Linked DNA regions of Homo sapiens: all the other regions are linked to region 1. Evidence: promoter capture Hi-C in 16 types of primary human blood cells and fetal thymus (Javierre and others, 2016). All regions are on one chromosome and are shown on one strand. The core of a region is centred on a gene start or on the middle of the fragment in contact, and the rest is flanking DNA. Distances in the headings are between cores, read along the strand shown. Region 1 holds the start of LINC02313 (long intergenic non-protein coding RNA 2313). Region 2 overlaps AKAP6 (A-kinase anchoring protein 6). Region 3 holds the start of DTD2 (D-aminoacyl-tRNA deacylase 2). Region 4 holds the start of LOC105370438 (a long non-coding RNA gene). Region 5 overlaps LOC105370438 (a long non-coding RNA gene). Region 6 holds the start of NUBPL (NUBP iron-sulfur cluster assembly factor, mitochondrial). Region 7 has its middle 25 kb from the start of AKAP6.

Region 1 (3,709 bases), core at 377-2,876:
ATCGCATCACCTGGGAACTCATTAGAAATGCAGATTACCAGGTACCATCCAGAAACTCTGAATCAGAAACTGTGCCCAGCAATCTATGCTTTAACAAGACCCTCCCCACGAGGACATTATTCTGATGAATTCTAATGTTTGAGAACCAGGGTCTTAGGGCACTGTTTCTGAAACTTTGTAGTGTATTAAAATCATGTGGGGTGCTTTAAAAAATTCCAATGCCCAGGCCACACCCCAGGTCAAGTAAATCAGGTTCTGTGGGGGTAGAACCCAGGCATCGGATGGATGTTTGGAAAACTCTCCACTGATTCCAATGTGCAGTCACAGTTGAGCCCCATTGCCTAAGGGTAAAGAACTCAAGAATATTAGTCGGCCATTTTCCCTATGGTGGAGAGCCTGTAGCTTTGAGCCCCGTAGAGAGAAGCCTTCCTGTGGGAGGAGAAAACAGTGTGTAAAATGAAGAAAGGGGCCAAACTGGGCATGCCTAAGCTTCGAAGGCCTCTTTCATTATAGGCTAGCTGCTGTAATGAAACAGGCAATTGCACCTGAGATTTTTCTGAAGTTGAAATGACCACGTGGAAAGGGAACAGCTTCTCTCCACAGTCCATCAAGAGGGGAGTGGCCAATGGGCCGCTTGGAGGACAAAGACCAGGGACACGCCCATTATCTGAGGCTTCAGGTATATTAAAATGAAGAAATCCCCAAATAGGGTTTCAAAAATTGTGATATACTATATTTTAGAAGTTTACATTTAATAAATTAAGGCTTTAACACGTGTAAGCTTTAAAAAAAAAACGCACAGGGTAATATAACCATCCTATTCACGGGATAATGGCAGGATTAATCTTAAAAATTCATGGGCCTGGTACCAAAATCAGGCATAAGTTTAAAGCTGATGATCATTTCCATCTTTTCAGTCTTATTAGCATATCTTCAGAGATAAATTTTTAAAAATCCAAATGTGAAGTCTCTGTGAGTGTGAGATCCCTGGATGAAAGGCCCTCCTTTGCCATGCCCCTGGGGCAGACTAAGAGGACCGCTGGAAAGAGATCCTAAGTGTGGCCCTGGAGCAGCTGTGAATGATTAGGTTGTGGGAAGACAACTGACATCTGGGTGCCTTGCGGCAGCCTGACCAGGGAGGTGGTGTCAGGGAAGCCAGAGCACCCCCCTTCCTCAGTGTGTTCCAGAGCAGTACAATACCTGCCTCCCTACACATAATGGATGCCTGCCCACCACCCTCTGTCCTCAGGCACACTTGGCTGCTGACAACAGGAAGTGAAACAGCCACACCCTCCTTTGACCCTATTAAGGTAACTCCTAGTTTGATACAGAGGCTTCCGGGGAGGGAAAGAAATAAGGGAGACACTTACCTTGTGCAGCACCTGCAGTGCTGTTGGTTTATAAAAGCACGAAATCTTCTGTCCCAGAGGCTGGACTGGGCTCATGACTGCATGTGAGATTGTGCTTTGGGAAGAGAAAGCAATCCCAGACTGAACAACAATTTTCTGGTGGCAGGTGCATCCATGAGGAGCTGCAGTCGGTCCCAGCAGCATATGCTTTCTCCTCTGGGAGGGCAACTCGGAGACGTGCAGACTAACGGGACCACTGGCTGCAAGCCTCAGAAACCTCTCAGGAGGTCCCTGGCAAGGCCTGTGGTATCTGGGCAGTGCAGGCAGCCTGGGCACCATAGGACAAAGGGGCGGGGAGTGGGGCAGGGAAGAAACAGCACAGAGGAAACAGCACACCTTGTTCTCATTGACTCGGAGTCAATGGCTGCCCACAGACTCTATTTCCTGGAGATTCAAGCCTCACACTGTCCTGTCCTCTCCCCTGAGTAAGTCTTCCAGAGAGTAAGAGCCACACCCAGGCAGAGGTGGGTGAGGCTGGGGTTCAAAGTACAGAGCCAGCCCTTTTATCTCATAGGCAGAGGAAATCATCCACTGTAAACCCACAGCGTCCTCCACCAGGGCAGCGTTTGATTCCTCCGTCTCATATCTCCGCTTGCCTTCCCTGTGGGTCAGTAGTTCCTGAGTTTCTCTAGCCTATAGAAAACATGAGGAGGAGGAGGAGAGATGGAGGGGGAGGAGGAGGAGAAGAGAAGGGAAGAATGAGCACATGGACTGCCCAGCCCCAGCCCCATGGCACCAGCATGGTAAACACTTGGAGGGAGGCCAGCCGTCTGGCGCCTCCAGTCTTCCACATCACCCCAGCCAAGATTCAGACCTGTATATTCTGGGCTCTTTCTGCCCCATTTCACCCAGGCTTTAAATTACCCAGACTTGGGTCTGGGTTATTCTATCCAAAACTTTCCTCTGAAATCTAGATTGTGATGCAATGTATACGTTCTCTAAATCAGATTTCTGAGGACTAAATGCCAGACCGCGTGGCGTAGCAGTCTGGCTGCAAACCATTTCCGTCAGCCCAGCGGAGGAACGCACAACAAGGTGCTCATCCCCGCAGCCGTGCACAGGAGACAGCAACGGTCCAGGTAAATTAGAAAGGCCTAACTTGAGCCAGCTAGTCATGGCAATTTAGGGAAAGTAAGGACTACACAGAGGCTCTGGGACGGCTTGCGGAATCAATGCCTAAGTTGCTGGATTGCTCCTTCTTTGGCTATGGAGCTAGTGGTTCCAAAATCTACCCCTTGATTCCTTAAGATGGAAGACCATTTAGACAAGCTGAGCCAAAACCCAGAGTCTTGGAACAAGCCTGTAACAATAATAGCAGCAGTAATGACAATGATTTTTAATATTCCTTGCTTAACAAGTGCTGGCCACAGTTCATGTTTTACATGGATTTACTTGGGGAATTTGATCGCTGGATCGAGGTGAGGACCATCCTCACTCCTCAGCTCCCCGGAGGACAGTCCCTTCCCCTCTGCTAGTCCTTTGACACAGACCCATTTTGACTTTTCAACTTCAACATTCTAGTTCAAGTCTTGGCCAGCTGTCAGCCTGGGCTTGTTTCTTCTCATCACAAGAAAAGAAACAGGGCTGCGAAGAGTAGCAAGCCCCTGACTGCTGCCCTTAAATGAGCTAGCCTTTAGGAGAAACACCCGAAGGTCAGGAGGCAAGCACTGTTTGCTCATGGCTATTGTTCCTCTGGGGAGCTGTGAGGGTGGGGTGAGTGGGGGAGGGTCTCTCATTTTGTGACTACACAGTATATAAAAAGCTGAAATGAAAATAATTCAGAAATTATTGTTGTCTTTATAAAACAACCTGTTCTGGGGTACCTTTCTGTACTTCCCTAAGTATATTTAAAACACAATTTTAAAATTCAATTTAACAAAGCCCCATCAAGACACATGCACTGCATCGTGCACATCTGTATAAATGCTCTTAAAGTGCAGGTTTGCATGAACCTTATTTTTCTAGAGGAGTGTGTCCTCTTGGGGAAAGAGGGAAAGAAGGCAGTAAAAATAGCATCGTGTCGCTGCTGACTGTGCATTGGCCACACAGCTAAGCACAGAGTGCCTAGAGAGCTTTGGCAGGATCATCACATGTTGTCCTCACAACAGACCCATGAGGGAGGTATCTCATCCCAATTTACAGATGAAGAAACTGAGGCTCAGGAAGATCAAGTGACGTCTTCATTATCACACAGCCATTAAGAGCTGAGCTTGGTGGGAACTCAGGCTTCCGCGACTCTAAAGACTAGAACTACAGACAAGCTGCAAAGCAAGATCAGGTCAAGATATTCTCCAAAGTTA
Region 2 (3,709 bases), core at 395-2,894, 510 kb before region 1:
AGGGTTAAGACATCAATCAGCACTATCCAATAGAATTCTATACAATTTGGAAATCTTTGCTGTCCAGTACAGTTGCCACTAACTACTATTAAAAGGTGGCTAGTGTGACTAAGAAATTGCATTTTTTTCAGTTTTATTTCATTATAATTTATTTAAATTTAAATAGCCACATGTAACTAGTGGCTACCATATTGGGCAATGCAGTCAACATAGATATTTTATGTGTTATTTTATAATAAAAAATATTAAATGTTTTGTTTAAACAACAACAAAAACAACCAACTTGTGTCTAGGAGACAACTAGAAGATACAGAAATAAATTAGTCAACGACAGCTTTATCTAAAAAGCTGCAATGCCTGCAATATTAGGCCCAAGTGCACATTTTATACACATAGTTTCTGTACTTTGGCATAACTATGCTAATTTGGCAAGTTTCCTAGATACTAGTCCACATACTAGGAAATAAATAGCTGTATACAAATAAAGCTATATCTTTTGTGCAAACTCTGCAGAACAGGCCAGAAAGAAAAATAAATGGAAGGAAGCAGAAAATGGGAACTGGAACATTGAAAGTAGGATCAGGTTTTTTAAAAAAGGATAATAAATTATTCAACTCACTAAGTGAATATGTAGTAATTAGGAAGCTCATGTTTTCTTCTTATGAGTTTTGATTATATCAAAATTACTGAAGCAACAAAATATCTTATTTTCTTGTATACCAGCCAGTATAAAATTTAGTCTTGATGAATCATGCAAACTAGCTAAAGGCTAATCTGACTTTCAGACCTGCACAAAGTAGGAGACATGTTTGTTTGTTCATAAGTATTTCCAAATTCCAATCCACTTGCAAATATAAAGCAATAGAGTAAACTAATTTTTTCCACTACCAGATATTAGATAGATAAAACATAATAATAAAGCCACTTTCCTCGTTTTGTTATTTTCAACATTTTACTATTATAAATGATATAGTAAACATATTCACATAGAAGGGATTTTTTCTATATTGGGATTTAAAGAAGCTTTCTTAAAGACCAAATTGGCCCAAATTGTAGCATTCTTAACAGTAAAACTATAACTAACCAAGGCCCTCAATTAATTCGATTCCTCCCTCCTTCTACTTTTTAGAAGGAAAAAAAGAAACCTCAAGAAAAGATATTGAAGCAAGGAGCAAACTTGCAGTATAAATCTCTTAATACATCCAAATCTGTTACTCTTACGTGAAAATGATATTATAACTGATGACTTCAAAAACTTCAGTATCATTAATCCTGAGAAAGCTTTAGGTATGTTCAGTACTATGCACTTGATTTTTGAAAGAGAAAGTATACTAATACACAATAAAAATATAGTACAATGGAGAGTCAAACTTATTTTTATCTCATTGTGTTAACTAAAAATTTCAAACAAAATATGCCCTGCCCCTTGCAGGCCTTGTTAAGTGAGGCTATATTTCCTATATTTCATTGTGTTTTAATGACCAAAACCAAATTATAGAAGAGTGTATTTTGATTGGTAGCATATATAAGTTGCCACAAATCAATCCCTCTCCCTCTCCCTCTCTCTCTCTCTCTCTCACACACACACACATCCCAGCTCACCCTACCACAGTCACAAAATCAGCAAGCAGTATTTGGATTGGGATAGAATCATAATCAGAACTACTAACATTTCATGTAGCATCAGAAATTTCAAAATTCTTCTAAAGAATGATCTTGATTTTTACAACAATCTTCAGAGGTGAATATTTACAGCTAAGGAAATTCAGGTTCATAGAAATTACTAAATTGCCTGGTGTCCAACTTCTAGTAAGTAGCAGAAACAGGAGCAGAACTAGGCCTGCCATCTCCAAATCCTGGGGGCTTTCCACTCTGCCTCACTCCTGGAACCAGCCAGCAGGCAAGAAGGAGGCACGAGGGTAGGCATGACAACTGACTATCACTAATTTGAAGAACTCCCATTCCAGCCATTAAAAGCTGGCTGACACTAAAGAGGCATCAAGCTTTTATTGCTCTCAGTGTGCTTCTGAAATCTCTGAGGCAGTTTGAACTAAATTAACCACTATCAAGAAAAGGGGCCAGGACATCTCAATATGCCCTATAAATTCTGGAAGACAGCCCCAATCTAGTTTCAAGAATACCTTCCACTATTTTAGCAGTTACTACCTACTTGCTTGGAATCTAATTTGTTCTACTTAAATTAGATTATCAGTCCTCAGGCCATATGACTCAAAGTAAAAACTGGCAGTTGATTGGCAGGGCCTCTTTCTGAAGCATTTCCCTTCCCTCTTTATGGGACCAGAGCTGTCTTCTCCATCAAAAAATCTTTTCTAAGAAAGTATTTATTCTTTTCCTTTTTCTTTTTTTTTTTTTTTTTTTTGAGATGGAGTCTAGCTCCATTGCCCAGGCTGGAGTGCAGTGGCACTATCTTGGCTCACTGCAACCTCTGCCTCCTGGGTTCAAGCGATTCTCCTGCCTCAGCCTCCTGAGTGGCTGGGATTAGAGGCGTGCACCTCCATGCCTGCCTAATTTTTTGTTTGTTTGTTTTGTATTTTTAGAAAAGACAGGATTTTACCACATTGGCAAGGCTGGTCTCAAACTCCTGATCTCAAGTAATACACTCACCTCGGCCTCCCAAAGTGCTGGGGTTACAGGCATGAGTCACTGCACCAGCCTGGTATTTATTCTTGATGTAAATGGAAGTGAATGCATTACTTCTCCCAATGACATTAATTTTTAATGCCTAACTTCTAATTATAGAAAGCCTTTGTAGAGGGTAAAGGAAATTCGGACATTGTAGAGCAGACTGGAGAGTTAATTTGTCAGGGTGATGATCTCTCCTGCAATCTCATCTTCTACCTGGGAATGAGAGCTTCCCCAAAGTTGCTGATGCTCATGTATGTGAGGAAACCTAATGCAAACAAGAATCCAGGTATCTATCTTTTACTAAACATTGTAGAATCAAGATTGTAGAATCAAGTATGCATTGCTAATATCTCCCTTTAGAATAATATCTCCCTTGTAGAATCAAGATTGTAGAATTAAGTATGCATTGCTAATATCTCCCTTACTCTCTCAGGATCTTTCCATTTTGAAATCAGGAAAAAAGTAAACTGAAAAAGCAATATGATATAGTATACTACAGGTATTAACTTGGAGTCCCCCATGAATGGGTTTCAAAGGGTCTCTTGATATAGTATGCAAAATATTACTGGCACATGTGTGCAATGTCTTGAGAAGACAGTTTATAGTTTTCATCATATTCTCAAAAAATTACCAATCTAAAAAGGTTAACACACACTTTAGGATTAGAAAGACCTAGTTTTTATTCCTAGCTCTACCACTTTGTAGTTGTGTGATTTTAGGCAAGTAAATTACCCTCTTTGTACCTCAGGTCCCACACTAGAGGGCCAGATATTATTTTAAAGATTAACTGAGATAATTCATGTGCTTTGAGGAAAACAAAGCATAAAGGATAGGTAGCTCACTCGAATTATTACTAGAAGAGTAAAGGACTTGAGAAATTTTAAGAGGAAGAAAGGGTCCTCACCCAGATGCAGAAAGAATAGATTGGGGATCAAGGCCACAAACTTGGCAACAAATTTACAGTTTGCTTAGGGTGTACTTGGTTATTGTCACGAAATGTTAGGGTTAGAAGGTACTCTGTAGTTCCCTCCGCTTACAGTGATGAAGCTGAGACCCAGGAAAG
Region 3 (3,709 bases), core at 543-3,042, 490 kb after region 1:
CCTACAGCACCTCAATACTACATACAATGAACATAATTGTTTTATAACAAAAATTAAAGTTATACATTTGTGAAAATTTTGCTGCATACTATATCATCTCAGCACTCCAGTTGAGAACCACTGTCTTACCTGTTTTCAATTTCCCCCATTGTGGCTTACTGACATAATTCTAGTTTCTTTATTTCTAATGCTTTAATTCACATTTTACTATTTTATTGCATGCATGTCCTTCCTTCTTAAATTATTTGCAGAATGAAACTAAGTGTTCAAAAAATAAAATACAGAAAGGAAATGCTGTCTTTGGTGGCCACTCTCTATAGCCTTCTGCAAATAGAAGTAAAAAATAAGTGAGCCACAGCCTATTACAGTACCTACAGCAATGTCCACGAGATCCTCACTCAATAGGAGGGTTTAAAGTAATTAGTGATTTTTGAGAAGCTAACCATTACCATCCATACTCCATCTATTCTACTCACAGGAAGGGTTTCCCAATTTGTTAAAGAAACCCTCTCTGTAGAAAGATCTCTGCGAACCACATAACCTATTCTCTATAGACCTCCCTATTTCCTGCAGCCACATACAAATGGACACCAAAGTCTTTTCTTATTCTGGGACATAGCTAATGGTTTGTATGTCAAAGTTTCTTTCAGGCCTGTAAAATCTGAATCTGAGAGCCGGAGAGAAAAGAGACTCAGTAGTTATAATGACATAAAGGTGCAGACATGAAGCAATTCAACTTGTCTGTGCTTTGCAGACAAATGTCAACAACTGTTGGAATCCCTGCAATGCAACAATCAGAGATCATGTGAGATTTTGCTTTCTGTTTTTACTAAAAGTGTAAACCTGGCTGCAAGATAACCAGCAAACAAGCAGCTTCGATTTTGTGTACAAAGGACTGTTGATTATGCATGGACTATTTTCTTCAGTCACACTACTTTGTATGGATAGCAACACTGTCAGTGATGTCATCTTTTTAAACAACAGATCCGAATGTATAGGCACATTGTGTCAACTGAGCCCAAATCAATGACCTGGGTAATGCAATCAGGGTAACACTATTATTCCTCATCTAAACCATCCAAGCCCATAGACAAATAAATGCTAATCTGATGCATGTTTAAGGAATACGTTACATGGGAAAGAAAATCAAGCCCTTGTTTAGTTTTATTTACATTCTAATATGTACTTCCAGAAAATGCATCACAGAATTTACGTCATATGCATCAGAATAAGCTGTTTTATTTTTGTATTAGTAGCGGGCTAAGTTATTAACAATCATACTTTCTTGGATAAGAACATTTTTAACAAGGATATCTTCTAAAGAATGTGTATTCGTATAGCATACCAATACCTTTTCACAACTGTGGAATCAGAATAATTTATGGCATTCCCGATAGAGGAGGCAGCATTGTTTTTATTGATTGGAATAAGGAAAATTTTGAAGGATGTATATATAGCTTTTAGTTCCATCTCCGCTTGCTTTATGATTCGATTATTTGTTTACTTACTTTCATATGGGCATAACATGAATTTAAATCAAGCAGATTTAAAATTTTTCAACAGTTGGAACCTAAGCTTTCTGAGGTGAAAAATGTTTCTTAAAAGGTTTGTAGGAAAGAGATTTAACGAGTCTTTTCAATCGTTTAATAAAAGTATACACTGAGCGCCTTCTACAGAGTTGGGCAGGTGCTGCCGAGAAGCTTAGCGCTACGCCGGCCTCCAAGACCGCACATCCGGGACATTCGAGAGTCAGTCCGAGGCCCCGCCCTCCTAAGGGCGGGGCCACTGGGCAATCGGCGCAGGCCCTTCGTCGTGCCCCGCCTCGTCTGCCCCGCCAGCGCGTCGAGGGAGGGGCCAGCGACACATGGCCTAGTAACTGTCCGGCCGCGGCGCTGGCTTAAGCCATGGCTGAGGGTAGCCGGATTCCTCAGGCCCGGGCGCTCCTACAGCAGTGCCTGCACGCCCGGCTGCAAATTCGCCCAGCCGATGGGGACGTCGCGGCCCAGTGGGTGGAGGTAACGTCAGCCCGGCAGCTCTCGTTATCCTCCGGCGTGCGGGGCGGTTTTTTCCGCGTTGTCTCGGTGACTCGTCCGCTCTGTGTCTCCCTCTGAGACCGGCGGTCCGGCCGCGGGGATACCGGGTCAGCTTGAAGCTGGCCGCGGTGGCCTGCCTGGCTGCGCTTGTCTTTTCGGTCCAGCATCACCGTTCCCCAGCGCCAGTTGTAGCACCCGAGAGGAAGAGCGTGTCTCCCTTCTTGGGGGGACCACAGGTATTTGAAACTGAGTTCGGTGAACTTCAGGCCTTACTGTCTCAGACCCCTTGCAGCTCGTGGTCTATGCTGGTCGGGGGCAAGCTTGTAGGTCAGGTTTGCTGCAAGAGTTCATGATCTGCTTTGACTTACGCCTCAGATCGCGTCGAATTCCCCCCTATGTTGACTTGGTCTTAGCATAGAAATGAGATTTCCTAAGAAACAATTCTATTTCAAGAAGCCTTTTAAAAGTTTTGACCAATTTCCAACTGAGAAACAAAGACCTCTACTTTTATAACAATGTTGCCTTATCAAACACATTTCTCCAAAGAATTTAAAACATTTATGTCACTATGAGTTCCTTCTACTTTCATACATACTTTACTTTTTAAGACCGCCTGCCCCCACTGCATACAAAAACAAATAAAATTTTCTTTAAGGCCTCTGACGTATTTTTGGAGTACGTTGAAATGTAAGAAAAAAATTAGTTCATAATTAAGACTTTTGTAGATACTCAGAAACTTCAGTGTAGCAAAATCTCATTCGCTCGCCTTTTCTGCTGAATTCGGTCCCAGATCTAGCATTACTTAAAACAATTTTAGTTATTATTTTACATTTATTTTATTTTTTATATTTTATTTATTTATATTTTATTTTATTTTTTGAGATGAATTCTCGATCTGTCGCCCAGGCTGGAGTGCAGTGGCACGATCTCGGCTCACTGCAACCTCCGCCTCCCGGGTTCAAGCAATTTTCCTTCCTCAGCCTCCCGAGTAGCTGGGACAACAGGCGCAAGCTACCACGCTAACTTGTATTTTTAGCAGAGACGGGGTTTCGCCATTTTGGCCAGGCTTGTCTGGAACTCCTGACCTCAGGTGATCCACCTGCCTCAGCCTCCCAAACTGCTGGGATTACAAGCCTGAGCCACCGCACCCCGCCTACTTATTGTAAATAGTACCCGTGAACTATATGATGTGTGGGTGATTATTCTAAAATCAGAATCTGTTGCCCTGTGCTAATTTGGAAATATAAGCATAGAAATTCCTGTATTCTTATCTCTCTCCTTTCCCAGAAATTCACTTTTCTTATTTCTTATTTTTGTCATGATTTTTTGTGAGGTCTTGATTTCCTTATTTGAAATTTTATTATTTTATTTTGCCATCCTATCTAAAGAATTAACCTGCCAGGCGCGGTAATCCCAGCACTTTGGGAGGCCAAGGCCGGCGGATCACTTGAGGTCAGGAGTTTGAGACCAGCCTGGCCAACATGTTGAAATCCCGTCTCTACTAAAAATACAAAAATTAGCCGGGCTTGGTGGCGGGCACCTGTAATCCCAGCTACTCGGGAGGCTGAGGCAGGAGAATCTCTTGAATCCGGGAGGCAGAGGTTGTAGTGAGCCAAGATCACGCCACTGCACTCCAGCCTGAGCCACAGAGTGAAACCTCATCTCAAAAATAAATA
Region 4 (3,709 bases), core at 324-2,823, 450 kb after region 1:
AGGAAAGGCCCATGGGGGGGGGCAGGACAAGGCACGTCTGACCTCAGACTCTCCTTGGGTGCTTGGGTGGGTCTTGCTGCAGCTGCTGTGGAGATGGGGGCGAGGTTCCCAGGTCAATGGAGTTGTGTACCTAGAAGGATTATGGCTGCCTCTGCTGAGTCATGCAGGTTGTCAGGGAAGTGGGATAAAGCTGGCAGTCACAGGCCTCACCCAGGTCCCACACAATCCAAAGGGCCATTCTCATTCCCACTGTGCCATCCCTAACAGCCACGAGTCTGTTTCCAGGCAGTGAGCAAGCAGGGCTTGAGAACTTGCCCCAGGCTACCCGCCTCCCAGCTGCAAAAGAAAAGGGTTTGGTTCCTCCCTCACCTGTGGAGTCTGGATGCCGGATTCACACCCTCGCCAGAGTTCTGGCCAGGAGGCTTCTTGCCCAGGTCAAATTGTTACAAAGTTTAGCTGGAGACTTCCTTCTCCCTGTGGCATCCCCCACCCCACTCCCCCACACCTCTGGCTGCCCTCCCAAAAGGATCCCTGTGGGGCCAGGCAGGAAAGGCCTGCTTGGGGACCCAGCAAGTTCCCAGGACCTTTCCTGTTCCTCTGCTGCATAATTCACTTGCCTCTCTAAATTGCCTCAGCTCCTGGTAAGGTGTGAAACTTCCCACAAACTAGACGTTCATTTTCCCTAGTGGGGTTGTGTGTTCTGGAGAGGAGGGTCTCCCTTTCCCACTTCTGCAGTTTGGGCACTCACAGTATTTGGGGTGTCTCCTGGGTCCTGCAGGAGCAGTCTGCTTCCTTCAGAGGGTCTGTGGGTCCTCTTGGGATTCCTGCTTTGTTCCTGCAGTCGTTCTGGAGCTAAAATTCATGATGTGAGCCTCCACACACTGCTCTGTCCGTCCGAGTTAGAGCTGCAATCTAGTCCTGTCTCCCATCTGCCATGATGATCTCACATTTCTATGTTTTAATATTCTGCATAGCACTGTAGTGCTTGCTGATGTTTCTCTTCTTTCTGTGTTTATTTACTGTTTTTGTTTTGTTTTGTTTTTTTGTTTTTGAGATGGAATTTCACTCTTGTTGCCCAGGCTGGAGGGCAACGGCGTGATCTCGGCTCATGGCAACCTCTGCCTCACGGGTTCAAACGATTCTCCTGCCTCAGCCTCTCGAGTAGCTGGGATTACAACACCCAGTTAATTTTTTTTTTTTTTTTGTATTTTTAGTAAAGATGGGGTTTCATTATGTTGGCCAGGCTGGTCTTGAACTCCTGACCTCAGGCGATCCACCCTCCTCAGCCCCCAAAGTGCTGGGATTACAGGCATGAGCCACCGTATCTGCCTCTATTTACTGGTTTAATGCTCACTTCTCCCCACTAGAATGTAAGCTCCATAAGAATACAGCTCTTATCACTGTCTCTCCCCAGTGGCAAGAATAGTGCTTCAAATACAATAAATACTTGGTAAACATTGCATGAATGAAATCTCAGGAACACCTTGTATGTTTTTAAAGATTTCCAGGTGAGTGTGACTTCAGCCAGGCTAGAAAGCACTGGAGTGACACCTGCATTGTCACTGTCACTATGCTGGAATATGGAGGGTGGTGAGAAGTGACCTTGAAAAGTACAGAACCAGGCCAGAAAAATGAAGCATTGCTCTCTTCAGCTTTGCCTTTAAGCATACTGTTTCCAAGACCCAGAATATGCCCTCCCCAACATCCCTAAGCTATTGAGTTCAGGTATCACCTTTAATAACTACAAACATTAAGGGCAATTATTTTGAAGTACTTACTTTATTTTCCCCAGTCTCAAATACTGTCTTACATGCAATAGATACTCAATGAATGTTTCTTGAATTGCATTGCTCAGAGATTTGCTCCAGCCCACTGGACTTGCAGGTGTTCTCTACTACAACTTACATAATATTAATGTTAGCTGAGGAGAGCAAAGATCACCTGGTGGTCAGCAAGCAGACCATCTGGAGGCAAAACTCCTTATCTGAGGAATTCAGAAGTAATTAGATGTCCTTCCTATCTAAAGCTGGCATCTGGTACCAGGCTTCTTTCCCAAAAACTTATAAGTAACTAGAATTTCTATAGATCTTCAGACTGCATGCGTGTCAAAACTCACTGTGCAATTCTTACTGATGTCACAGCACCAAAATGTCTACAAATGTAATCATTTATCATTACCTGTGTGACTAATATGGTCCAAATTATCCTTAAGCTCCTGCTTGAAGGTCCATAAATACCCCTAAGGAAAATCCACTGCAGCTCCCTCAGTCCTCTCTTGCCGAAGCGCCCGCCCATTGCACTCTGCCACAGTGTTCTTTCCATCTAATACAACTTTCCTTTTCAAACCTATACTTTTGTTGGTAAATTCTTTTTACCACCTTCAAGCCGATCACTCTCTGTGGCAAGGCTCTGACACCCCACCTGGCATTAGCTATCATATATTTAATACATATCATGTGCCAGGTACTGTGCTAAACCCTTACCTATAGGGGTTTGGGCCACAATCCCAAATGTTGAAATCCTAAAAGATCAAAATTCTGAAAAAAAAAATTCTAAAAAAAATTTTTTAAGTTCTTTAAAGGCATTTACATTTTTAAAAGATTTATTTGAGAAACATATTGGCCAGGTGAAGTGGCTCATGCCTATAATCCCAGCATTTCGGGAGGCCAAGGCAGGAGAATCACTTGAGCCCAGGAGTTCAATATCAGCCTGGGCAAGATAGTGAAACCTCGTCTCTACAAAAAATAAAAAAATAGCCCACTGCAGTGGCATACGCCTGTAGTCCCAGTGACTTGGGGAGGCTGAAGTGGGAAGATCACTTAAGCCTGGGAGGTCAAGACTGCAGTCAGTCGTGATCACTCCACCACACTCCAGCCTGGATGATAGAGAGAGACATTGTCTCTTAAAAACAGCATCAACAACAAAACAAAGTAACAAAAACAACAGAACACTTTATAGGCCACTTTACACAATAAAATAGGCAATAATAACATACATATTTTTGCAAGCATAAACAAGTATACTAAGGACAGTCATCCAGGCACAACATTTATAAGCAGACAAATCATATTCATAAATAACTTACACAACTGCAGTCATCTGAAATACTTATAGAATGGGAGTTAGATGAATTTAACTCCTTGGTCTCTTCCAACTCTAAAAATTATATGCATCTATGAGTTACTAGCCTTTCACACATTTGGTTCAGCAGTACCATCTGCTTCTGCATTTCTGCTTCAAACAGTGGTTATATCAAAACAACATAAAACTGTTTCCATTTCCATAAGTTCTTTTTTGAAATCATCTGACTTGATTTGAAATATGAAAAGTGAACTGAAAGAAGCCACATTACTAAAGCCACAGAAGAGAATTACTTCCTCAAATACACTCTGTGTATTTCCTAACATTGTTAATATCATTGGTTTAATCACCTATGGGAGGAAAATACTCACTATTAAGGGTATTTCTGAGGAGAGATATATAATAATCAAATTTTAGGCTATCTAATGGTTGTACTAGCCCTAGTACATATTTGAGGAGAAAAGTTAAGAACTAGTCCCTAATATATTTGTTATTTATGAATTTTAGAAATTATAGAATTGAGAAACAGAGAGTGAGGGGAGAAGAGGAAAAGCCTGGCCCAAATTCCTTTTTTTAATTGAGAAGATAGCATAAGAAGGAGCCCTTAGCTTTTCTTGGTGAAAACCTT
Region 5 (3,709 bases), core at 588-3,087, 430 kb after region 1:
TCAATCAGAGTCCTTCCCAAGGACTGATATGATCAAAACTGTAAAGTTCTTTCTTTCTCCTGACATTCAACCAACATGGTCAATTTCTCCAGTTGCGTGGAAGAAGTCCATTTTTTTGTAGGAGAGAAGAGATCAACACACAGAGGAAAGCAAAGGAGATATGTGAAAGGGAGAGAGAGGAAAAAGGGAAAGGGAGAAAGAGGTCAGACCTAAAAGTGTTACTGATGCTACTTCGTGAAGCCTGAATTCAACCCCTCTACCTCCCCCAGTACATGGACCAGTGAATTCCCTTTTTTCTTTAAACCAGCTTAGGTTTTTTGTTATTTGCAATCAAGAGTACCAACTCAGTGCCCCATCCCCACTAATTGTAGTGACAATATTCATTATTGTGGAGAATAACTATGCATATATGTTACTATTAGGTTTTCCTTTGATTTCATGCAGCAGAAATATGACTACAGTTGCTTAACCAAACACATATTAATTTATTCATGTAACAAGAATTCCAGAGAAAGGAGACCAGAGCTGGTGCAGATGTTCAAGAAAGTCACAAGCTCCTTCTGGCTTCCTTTTCCACCACTTTAACTTGTAGCTTTCATCCTCAAAGTTGCAAGAAGGCTGCTCTACCTGCAGTCAGAAAGAAGAGCGGAAAAGAGGAAAAAGTGTGTGCCAGCAGAGCATGTTCCTTTTATGTAATAAAACAAAAGTGTGTCTCATAGCGGAACCCTGTAACCATCATAGACCACATCTCGGTCATATGGACGTACCTAGATGCAAGGGAGTCTGAGGAAATGAGGCTTTTATAACAAGTCACATTCCCACTTAAAAAAAAAAAAGTCTTTGATTAATGAAGGTGAGAATGAATACTAGGTAGGCAAATGTATGGTCAAAGTCAATGGCCTTACAAATTGGTATAATATTTGTGAAAAACAATTTAGACTTACTATATAGACTTCATACCTGGTGATTTAATAATACCAGTTCTAGGAATTTGTTCTTAAATAATTCAAACTGTGAGAAGACTGTAATAAAGATATTTATATTGATGATCTTAAAAACAGAAAAAATCGGCTGGGCGTGGTGGCTCATGCCTGTAATCCCAGCACTTTGGGAGGCAGAGGTGGGTGTATCACCTGAGATACGGAGTTCGAGACCAGCCTGGCCAATATGGTGGAACCCCATCTCTACTGAAAATACGAAAATTAGCTGGGCGTGGTGGTGGGCGCCTGTAATCCCAGCTACTTGGGAATTGAGGCAGAAGAATCACTTGAACGTGGGAGGCAGAGGTTGCAGTGAGCCGAGTTCGCACCATTGCATTCCAGCCTGGGTGAAAAGGGTGAAACTCTGTCTCAAAAAAAAAAAAGAAAAAAAGAAAAAGAAAAAATCTGCATAATCTAAATATCCAAAAATAAGGAAATGATTATAAAAATTATATGTTTGCAGACTATGTATTGTACAGCCATTAAAAATTATAATTCTTAAGATTATGAAACAAATGGGGAAATGTTTATGATATAATGTTTGGGTTGGTTGGTTGGTTGGTTGTTGTTGTTGTTGTTTTTTGGAACAGAGTCTCGCTCTGTCACCCAGGCTGGACAGGCTGGAGTGCAGTGGCATGATCTTGGCTCACTGTGAACTCCATCTCCTGGGCTCAAGCTATCCCTTCCACCTCAGCCTCCCAAAGTGTTATGATTACAGGCATGAGCCACTGTATCTGACCTGTGATATCATGTTAAAGAAAAGAATTGACAGCATGATTTTTCATAAACTAATATTTTATATACATCAAATACCACAAAGGGAAAAGTTACTGAAAGAAAATACACTAGATGCTAACAGTGGTTGTATTAGGCTGTTGGGGTTATAATTTATTTTTCCACTTTCCTCCAAGTTACAGTTTTAATTGTTTTCTTTAATAATAAATTAATAAAGTAAACATTGATTTTAAATAAATTAGTTTTATCAGTATATATTCATTGAAGTAGTTCTGGGATTTATTCACTATAGATTTATGCTACTCTAGTATTTTTTCCATTGTTTAGCAGAGCACTGGGATTAAAATGACACCTAATAAATATTTGTTGGTAGATTATTAGATGCTTTCTTTTAAACAGTATTAAGAAACAGCAGCAATAGGATGCATGAATGGATAGATAAATGGATCGATTGGTAGATCAATAGATAGATTTATTACAGGGAATTCACCCAAGTGATTATGGAGGCTGGCAAATTTAAAATCTGCAAAGCTGATGTCTCAGTTTAAGTCCAAACAGGAGCACGTTGCTGGAGAACCAGGAAAAGCCCATGTCCTAGTTCAAAGGTCTCAAGCAGGAGAATTCTCTTTTACTTGGAGGAGGGTCCGTTTTTTTTGGTCTATTCAGGCTTTCAACTGAATAGGCCCACCCACATTATGGAAGGCAATCTGCTTTACTTAGTCTATAGATTTAAATGTCAATCTTGGGTCGGGCACCATGGCTCATGCCTGTAATCCCAGCATTTTGGGAGGCCCAGGTGGGTGGATCACTTCAGGCCAGGAATTCAAGACCAGCCTGGCCAACATGGTGAAACCTCCTCTCGACTAAAAACACAAAAATTAGCCAGGCATGGTGGTACACGCCTGTAATCCCAGCTACTTGGGAGCCTGAGGCAGGAGAATCGCTTGAACCCAGGAGGCAGAGGTTGCAGTGAGCTGAGATCACGCCGCTGCACTCCAGCCTCAGCAAAAGAGCGAGACTCTGTCTCAAAAAAAATAAAATAAATAAATAAATAAATGTTGATCTTGGGCCAGGTTCAGTGGCTCATACCTGTAATCCCAGCACTTTGGGAGGCTAAGGCGGGTGGATCACTTGAGCTCAGGAGTTTGAGACCAGCCTCGGCAACATGGCAAAAACCCGTCTCTACAAAAAATACCAAAATTAGCCAGTTGTGGTGGTGCAAGCCTGTAGTCCCAGCTACTCTGGGGGCTACGCAGAAGGATGGCTTGAACCCGGGATGTAGAGGCTGGAGTGAGCCGTGATGGCGCCTCTGCACTCCAACCTGGGCGACAGAATGGGACTCTGTCTCTAAATAAATGTGTGTGTGTATGTTAATCTTATCCAAAAACTTTCCATAGAAATAGCCCAAAAAAAATTTGACCAAATATCTGGGTACCCTGTGGCCCAGACACATAAAATTAACCATCACAAACAGTCACAGGTGAAACTAAATTTATGTCACATGTTGGATTAGATTTAAATCTTTTTAAATCACCAGGTCTTTCCTCTGTTTAATGCCGGTGTGAAGTTTATACATCTTTGCATTTTACCTCCATGCCTTTGCTCACTGTGCTCCCTGAACTTGAAATGTTTTTCCTGTAATTGCCACATTTCTATATCCTTAATATCTTTAAACCCTGCTCAAATGCAACATTCTTCACAAAACCTTCTCTGATTCCTACAGTCTTCATACCTCCTACCCCGACCTCCTATAGACACATCAAAATAGAAGTAGGCCGGGCATGGTGGCTCATGCCTGTAATCCCAGCCCCGTGTGAAGCTGAGGCAGGACGATTGCTTGAGCGCAGGAGATCAAGACTAGCCCGAGCAACACAGCAAGACCTCATCTCTACAAAAAAAAATTTTTTTAATTAGCCAAGCATTGTGGCACACACCTGTAGTCCTAGCTACTTTGAAGGCTGAGGTAAGAGGATTGCTTGAGACCAGGAGTTCCA
Region 6 (3,709 bases), core at 1-2,500, 380 kb after region 1:
ACAGCCTGGGTGACAGAGCGAGATTCCGTCTCAAAAAAAAAAAAAAAAACAAAAAAAAAAAGTTACTAGATGTTTTAAAAATAACAGCAACCAATTATTGAACACTAGTAAACACTAAGCTAAGTGGTTAGCTTGTGCAATTTGAATAACCATCTTATGAAAGAAGTTATCTCCATTTTACAGTTAAGTGAACTGAAGATTTGCTGTACAATCTGACCACTTTTTCCTGAGTTAAGGGGTGGGAGACCCGGCTAGTACCTACTTTTGTCTAACTCCAAAATCTAAGCGTCTACCCGCTACCAACTCCTGAAACTAAGGAATCACATGTTAGGAACTTCACAAATAAATTTTTAAAACACAAAACTATAATTTCAATAGTGTGCACTTGTCTGTTGGCATAAGTTCTTAATCAGGAATAGAATTAATATCCTATAATACCTGCTGTAGTAGATTTTCCGACTCCACCCTTTCCAGAAGCCACAACTATAACTTGTTTAACACCTTCTATCGGTTTCTGCTTTGGAAGTCCTCGGGACATGATTTGTGTTCTTCTTTGTTTTAGGGTCTCACTCCCGGCGCCAGACAACTTTAAAAAATAATAATAATAAAAAGCCGTTTTAAATAAGCCATCTCCATCATCACACTGTAAAAGCAAAAACAATCTGGGGTTTGCAATTAAGAGGGCTTTCTTTTCTAATTCTGCTCATCTTCACTATGGAGACATTTACCTACTACTACTGATAACAATTGTAAAGACACATTGCTTAAATTGAAATTTTTCTAGCAGGATACGCTGAACGTTTAAAAATGTAAAAACGCTGCCTCTTTACGGAGATAAGGCTTCCACGTGTTTTGCTTTTCTTCAATCTATTTGATAAATAACCCAAAGCCAAGAAAGCAATGTAGAATACCACATCTACGTTCTAACTGTGTTTCAAGTCCCGCCACGCCTCAGCCTGGGCCTGCCTGAAAAGTAGGCACGTCCAGCACACTGGGGGTCTCAGGAACTGAGGCGAGTCTTTGGCAAGAAGCAATGCCAGGGCATCTGCGGCCCTGCAGCCCAGCATCTGTCAGCCCGCTTCCCCCTGCCCTGCAGCACCACGGACCTGGCGCCCACAAACCATCGCTCGGCTTCCCCCAAGCGGGGCAGTGGCCCCGCCACCAGCCCGGAGCGACACCCCACCAAAAAGCAGCAGACGCTGCCAAATCCCCATGACGCGGAACGCTGCTGTGAGCCCTGCTGGGAAACTGTCGCGGGTGGCGCGGAGTGATGACGTCACGGAGCAACGCTCGGCTTTCTCTTCCTAGCAACCGGTCTTCTTTGGGTTTGTTGGCTCAGGAACCCAATCTGCATGATCTTGTTTATAGCCAGCTACAAACATTTTGCAGCGTTTTACTAAACGTTTGTGAAGTGTTGTCATATAAAACATCTCTTATGATACTTACAGAAGTCCCGAGGTAGACAGAAGACTTACCTAGTATACTCTTTTTATGGACAAGAAAACGGAGAAAGTTTAAAGAGACTTGACCCAGCTTAACAAAAGTAGGAAATGGGGGACCTTGAAAATGACCCCAGGATTTCTTACTAAGCAGTATATGGTCATTTAAATACTACCACCGTTAAGGATTTTACCTTTTTATTTTATTTTTTCCCGTGTGATCTACAGTGAGAGTCTGTTTTGCGTTGGTATTCATGGCTTGTGTTGCTGACAGTTCCCTGAAAGAAAGGTCAGGTTGCTTTACCAGCAACCTGGTAAAGAACTTTGCAAGTTCTTCCAGACTTAAGACTCATTTATTTAACAAATATTCGTTGAGCAACTACTATGTACCGAGTACTACAGTAGACTTAAAATATTCAGCATTGAGACCGACATAATTCCTCCACTAAAGGGCTTTATAATCCAGTGCAAAAGACAGAATAAGTTAACAACAAAATTGCGGTATAATATGATAAGTACAGGAGAAAAGCATTGAGGGATACAGGAGAAAGGACAAAGTGATACAAAGAAAGGGCACTCAATTCAATCAGGGGAAGCTTCTAAATTAGGTAATATCTAAGCTGAATGCTGAATCTGAATAATGTGTAGAAGTTAGCTGGGAGAATGGCAAGGAGATTGTTGTAAAGAGGTTAGAAATGGACTGCTAAGGCTAGGCATGGTGGCTCACGCGTGTAATTCCAACACTTTGGGAGGCCAAAGCAAGAGGATTGCTTGAGCCAGGAGTTCAAGGATGCAGTGAGCTATGATTGCACCACTGCACTCCAGCGTGGGCAGCAGAGTGACACCTTGTCAGAAGAAGAAGAAAGAAGGAAGGAGGAAGGAGGAAGAGGAAATTAAAAGGAGAAGAAAGAAGAAGGAAGAAGAAAGAAGAAGAGAGTAGAAGGAAGAAAGATGAAAGAAGAGAGAAAAGCCCCCGCCCGGCCAGCTGCCCCGTCCGGGAGGGACGTGGGGGGCAGCCCCCATCCGGTCAGCCGCCCCGTCCCGGAGGGAGGTGGGGGGCAGACCCCGCCCGGCCGCCACCCCGTCCGGGAGGTGGAGTCACCTCTGCCCGGCCACCCCGTCTGGGAAGTGAGGGGCCCCTCTGCCCAGCCGCCACCCTGTCTAGGAGGTGTACCCAACAGCTCATTGAGAACGGGCCATGATGACGATGGCGGTTTTGTCGAATAGAAAAGGGGGAAATGTGGGGAAAGGAAAGAGAGATCAGATTGTTACTGTGTCTGTGTAGAAAGAAGTAGACATAGGAGACTCCATTTTGTTCTGTACTAAGAAAAATTATTCTGCCTTGGGATGCTGTTAATCTATAACCTTACCCCCAACCCCGTGCTCTCTGAAACATGTGCTGTGTCCACTCAGGGTTAAATGGATTAAGGGCGGTGCAAGATGTGCTTTGTTAAACAGATGCTTGAAGGCAGCATGCTCGTTAAGAGTCATCACCACTCCCTAATCTCAAGTACCCAGGGACACAAACACTGCGGAAGGCCGCAGGGTCCTCTGCCTAGGAAAACCAGAGACCCTTGTTCACATGTTTATCTGCTGACCTTCCCTCCACTATTGTCCTATGACCCTGCCAAATCCCCCGCTCCGAGAAATACCCAAGAATGATCAATAAATACTAAAAAATAAAAATAAAAAAATAAAAAAGATATCAAAAATAAAAATAAAAAAAGAAAGAAGAGAGAAAAGAAGAGAGAACACAAGAGGAGTAGAAAATACATTTCTTTTCTGGATTGTTAAGAACTGTAAATGATCTGTGCAACTTAGGACAAAGTGACTAAAAGAGATGAGGATGGAGTGAAGGTTGGTTAGATGGAGGTTGCCTAAATCAAGAAAGGCTGTATATATCTTGTAAAGAAATTTGGACTTTATCCTAAGGGAACTATAGAAGGATTTTAAGCAGGAAAGTAACATCAGATTTGTGTTTTAGAAATACCACTATGATTACTGGGTTAAAAAAGAAATGGATCAGCGGGGCAAGATCAGAGACAAGGAGACATGAGGTCTCTCTCTTGAAGGCTTGACTTAACATCTCTAAATTTCACTTTGTTATCAATAAAATAGTTAATTCCTACTTCTATGGTTGTTGTGAGGTTGAACTTAAGATAATGCATGTAGAACAGCTGTCACAGAGTTAGTAATTGTTAGCTATTGTGGTAATCATTGGTTGTGTAGAGGTTTATGACATGAGCAACTAGATGAATTCCCTGAGAGAA
Region 7 (3,709 bases), core at 709-3,208, 360 kb before region 1:
CATTATAACTAAAATTGGATACCAAAATATACATGTGGCCCTGGTTCTCAAGACTGATATATGAAAACAGGAGCAAACAATGATAGCCACCAATTTTTGAGTTCCTACTACAAATTTAACGCTATAGTGTTTTTTGAGCAACCAGCAAAATAAGTATTACCATTCCCATCTAAGATTTAAAAAATTATAAAATTAAATAATTTGCAGCTAGTTACAGGAAGATGGTAAGCTTTTTCAGGCTCCAAGGGGTGGGCTCTTTCAAGTCTGGTAGCCATCTCAAAACTAGCCTGTTCCTTTCTATTACCTAATTTTATCTTTGCCACACTCTCTTAGGTAAATAGAGTGGACAGTATCATATGAAAGTTGAACATATAGGCTCTGGAGCCAGGCAACCTAGGATCCGAAGGCAGCTCTATCATTCATTAGCTATATGACACTGGGTAAGTTACTTAACTCAGGGCTCACCTCCTTCACTATAAAATAAAGAGGATGATAAGAGCACCTGTATCAAAGGCTTTCTGGAGGATTAAATGAGCTAATACATAGGAAGTACCTGGCACATGGCTAAGTAGCTGTTATTGTCATCCCAGTGATGGATAAAAAAACTAAATCAGTGAAGAATCTAGACCACAAATCAAGTTTGTTGTTTCTCAGCCATTTTTCCACTAGGTCATATGGCTGTACTGATATGACATGTTAGTGTTTTTCTTCTAAAATAAAAGACAACAAATTATATTTCCACAAACTCAAATATTCCTAACACTGAGCCCTTAGTCAAAATGATTATATTTCTACCACCCTACAAAGTTCAAATACCCAATATGTTTTAATGCTAATGACTTAATCTCTAACCATAAAAAAATAGGTCCCTGATTGCCCCTTTTCTCCCCCTCCGCTGCCAGCATCACTCAGTAAAAGAAGGAGCCTTCTGGTCCTCCTGGCCCAGCCACAGCTTCCACAGTCAAGGATACTTTCAGGCCTCAGCACCCTACTTCCTGCCCTGCTACACATTTGAACATGTGGCTGTTACAGAAATCCTACTTTCCTCACATCCAGCTTCCATTTTCTTTACTAAATGGTGGAGTTTTCATTTGGTGATCTTTCCAACGATTCCTGGTAGACTTCTGAACAAACCCACCATGGGCAAACATTTCCTCTTAGTGAAACTCCTTGTCATCCTGACACTGATTATTGTTTTTCCTTATTGTAGCCCTTGATGATGGCAAAGTAACACTCACCCCTCTCTTCTATTGTGACTTAGGGACCAGAATGACTAGTCCTTGAATTAAAAAAAATTTTTTTAAAGAACCACTGGGAATTATTGACAGTACCTATTCTCCCCCCTTTTCCTCCCTCACTCTCAAATCAGGCCTCTGACCCACATTTTCACATACACAATGGTGTTTGTACCAGCCTGGGGATGCCAATTCCATGCCCAATCTTGCTCCCCCCATATGGCAGAAAGGGCTGCCACCATGGGACAGCTGCTGAGCTGTGCTAAATCCTGTATGGAGTACTTGTGGCCCAGAGGGTGTCACCTCCAAGATGTTCAGGGCTCCATCTCTCCCTCCCTGTCTGCCTATTATGCTTGGAAGCAGGCGTGCAGCATAATCACCCCTGTCTCTCCTGGATCCCTGAGGGGAGCCTCCTCCTCAGGGTGGAACGTCTGTCATATGGCCACTAGGCATCTGGTTTTAAGCAGATTTTTGTTGAGAGGTGAAATGGTGCCAGTATTGTACTGTTTCCCTTCCCTGTGGACATTTGTCAGAGTAAATGACAAGAGTAGATTAGCCCATTAAGGATCTGAGTCCCACCGGCTAAAATTTTGATTATTTATATAAAGGATCTTAAGCTTCATGTACTAGGGATCCCTTCCAGTGTTAAAGTGTAGGGGGGCTTGAGTTGTCTTTCAGAGTTTATATTCTTGTCTGGGTGCCCCTACAGTCACATATTTTGCAACCTATAGTTGGTTTCATTTTCTTCCTTACAACTACTCTGTGTCCTTGTTACTGATGTGGAAACATTTTGTACTTCAGACTCAGGTTGATGAACATTGAAGCTTTCAGGCTAAATCAGCAAGAGGCTGAGAAACAGGTCAAAAAGGTCATCTCTTCACTCAGCATCAGAAAGTGCTGGAACTGGAGGACTGACAAAGCAGTATGGTTGGGGACAGATACAAAAGCAGAAACCAAAAGCCTAGAAAAAAGTAACATTGTCCAATGATATGAAGAAAGAAAGGAGAGAAGGAAGGGATAGAAGGGAGCAAAAAGAACGTCCATTGTCGTGTTTGCTCAAAAAAAAAAAAAAAAAAAAGAATGGTGAGAGAGGGAGAGGGAAGAAGAAATGAACATTTACTAAGCGTCTACTGTGTACCTTATAGTACACAAAACCTTACAAGATGATTCCATGTATGTTTAATCCCCACTAGGACCTAGTAAGAAAGATGGCACCCCATTTTTACAGAAAAGTAACTTGCCTGGAATTGCTTAATTTTGCTAACAAATATGATATAGGACCTAAATTCAAGTGTGGTCTATATAAAATCTCATTCTTTTAAACGAATCACTTTCTAAGTCTAAATGATTGTTCATCCTAAGCCACTGAAAAAAATGAATATAACTATGGATACATAACATGTTAACATTTAGAGGAAGCTGAGTGACGGGTTTTTTGGAACTCTCTGTACTAGCTTTGCAAATCTTCTGTAAATCTAAAATTATTTCAAAATAAATAGTTTTTCTTTTAATGAAGTAACTGCACTTCACAGAGCACATGTAGCCCACACAAGGAGCTGGTGATATTGTGGATTGAAAGTCCAGTGACTTAAGGATCAATAAACAAACATTATATAATTTACTCACTGTCCTTTTGACCTCAGATGCTAATAAGCCCAAATGTTTTTTCTCACTAAGATTTAAAATAAATGTTTTAAAAACTGCTCTCAACCTTAAGATATTTCCCAACTAAACCTGCTAATGTTGCTAATTTAAGCATAGTATGAAAAACTGTAATTATTTACAATGCCACATGCATATAATGATTATACCTCACTGCTTTGAGATATATGCCCAGGGGCCAGGTACAGTGGCTCATGCCTGTAATCCCAGCAATTTGGGAGGCTGAGGTGGGTGGATCACCTGAGGTTAGGAGTTCAAGACCAGCCTGGCCAACATGGTGAAACCCTGTCTCTACTAAAAACTGCAAAAATTAGCCAGGCACAGTGGTGCGCGCCTATAGTCCCAGCTACTCGGGAAGCTGAGGCAGGAGAATCGCTTGAACTCAAGAGGCAGAGGCTCCAGTAAGCCAAGATCATGCCACTGCATTCCAGCCTGGGCAACAAAGAGAGACATCACAAAAAAAAAAAAAAAAAAAAGAGAGAGAGACAGAGATATGCCCAGGAATCTCATTCATATTGTAAGCAACTAAATATTGTAAAAAAGTAAGTTGCAAAAGAGTATATTATAGGGTCGATTTTGTCTTAAATATATAATATATACAGAATATATATTCTATTATGACAGAATATATATTATATAAAACAGAGAAAGAAGATGTGCGCCATTTAAGCTTTTGGAGTGATGCTATGGTTTGAACACGTCTCCCCAAAATTCGTATGTTGGAAGCTAAGACCCAATGTGATAGCATTAAAGGATGGCACATTTAGGTGGTAAGTCGTGTGGGCTCTACCCTATTAAAGTTTTATGTGTTA

What was found. Contacts are between HindIII fragments. The CHiCAGO score rates a contact against its expected background, and 5 or more counts as called.
Region 2: a fragment that was not itself captured here is called in contact with the fragment with the promoter of LINC02313 in region 1 in 1 of 17 cell types (erythroblasts); the score reaches 5.8 in erythroblasts.
Region 3: a contact is called between the fragment with the promoter of DTD2 here and the fragment with the promoter of LINC02313 in region 1, in 4 of 17 cell types (naive CD4 T cells, non-activated CD4 T cells, activated CD4 T cells and 1 more). The highest score is 12.0, in naive CD4 T cells.
Region 4: a fragment that was not itself captured here is called in contact with the fragment with the promoter of LINC02313 in region 1 in 2 of 17 cell types (M1 macrophages and M0 macrophages); the score reaches 6.3 in M1 macrophages.
Region 5: a fragment that was not itself captured here is called in contact with the fragment with the promoter of LINC02313 in region 1 in 3 of 17 cell types (endothelial precursors, megakaryocytes and M0 macrophages); the score reaches 5.3 in endothelial precursors.
Region 6: a contact is called between the fragment with the promoter of NUBPL here and the fragment with the promoter of LINC02313 in region 1, in 1 of 17 cell types (naive CD4 T cells). The highest score is 6.2, in naive CD4 T cells.
Region 7: a fragment that was not itself captured here is called in contact with the fragment with the promoter of LINC02313 in region 1 in 1 of 17 cell types (total B cells); the score reaches 6.0 in total B cells.

Annotation. Positions count from the first base shown.
Region 1 is chr14:31,942,770-31,946,478 of GRCh38, reverse strand. It overlaps LINC02313 (long intergenic non-protein coding RNA 2313), which reads right to left and starts at 1,626. Exons shown (of 2, transcript NR_146544.1): 1 at 1,371-1,626. RefSeq lists an enhancer at 1,145-2,344. The HindIII fragment of the contact is 3,310 bases long and covers 784-3,709 here.
Region 2 is chr14:32,448,193-32,451,901 of GRCh38, reverse strand. All of the region lies in intron 2 of AKAP6 (A-kinase anchoring protein 6), which reads right to left. Among named protein-coding and RNA genes, the nearest start is that of AKAP6, 120 kb to the right of the region's middle. The HindIII fragment of the contact is 722 bases long and covers 1,284-2,005 here.
Region 3 is chr14:31,455,589-31,459,297 of GRCh38, reverse strand. DTD2 (D-aminoacyl-tRNA deacylase 2) reads left to right here and starts at 1,792. Exons shown (of 3, transcript NM_080664.3): 1 at 1,792-2,015. The coding sequence starts at 1,905. RefSeq lists enhancers at 1,628-1,807, 1,948-2,157, 1,602-2,187, 2,188-2,773. The HindIII fragment of the contact is 653 bases long and covers 1,703-2,355 here.
Region 4 is chr14:31,489,480-31,493,188 of GRCh38, reverse strand. It overlaps LOC105370438 (a long non-coding RNA gene), which reads right to left and starts at 3,225. Exons shown (of 4, transcript XR_943723.3): 1 at 3,086-3,225. RefSeq lists an enhancer at 1-691. The HindIII fragment of the contact is 7,142 bases long and covers 1-3,709 here.
Region 5 is chr14:31,511,419-31,515,127 of GRCh38, reverse strand. The region is part of intron 1 of LOC105370438 (a long non-coding RNA gene); the gene reads right to left. Among named protein-coding and RNA genes, the nearest start is that of GPR33, 25 kb to the right of the region's middle. The HindIII fragment of the contact is 5,890 bases long and covers 1-3,709 here.
Region 6 is chr14:31,558,945-31,562,653 of GRCh38, reverse strand. It overlaps NUBPL (NUBP iron-sulfur cluster assembly factor, mitochondrial), which reads right to left and starts at 1,250. Exons shown (of 11, transcript NM_025152.3): 1 at 1,107-1,250; 2 at 439-586. The coding sequence starts at 1,214. It overlaps NUBPL-DT (NUBPL divergent transcript), which reads left to right and starts at 1,323. Exons shown (of 3, transcript XR_943720.2): 1 at 1,323-1,543. RefSeq lists enhancers at 526-1,081, 1,008-1,407. The HindIII fragment of the contact is 6,263 bases long and covers 1-2,037 here.
Region 7 is chr14:32,302,421-32,306,129 of GRCh38, reverse strand. No RefSeq gene overlaps it. Among named protein-coding and RNA genes, the nearest start is that of AKAP6, 25 kb to the left of the region's middle. The HindIII fragment of the contact is 207 bases long and covers 1,855-2,061 here.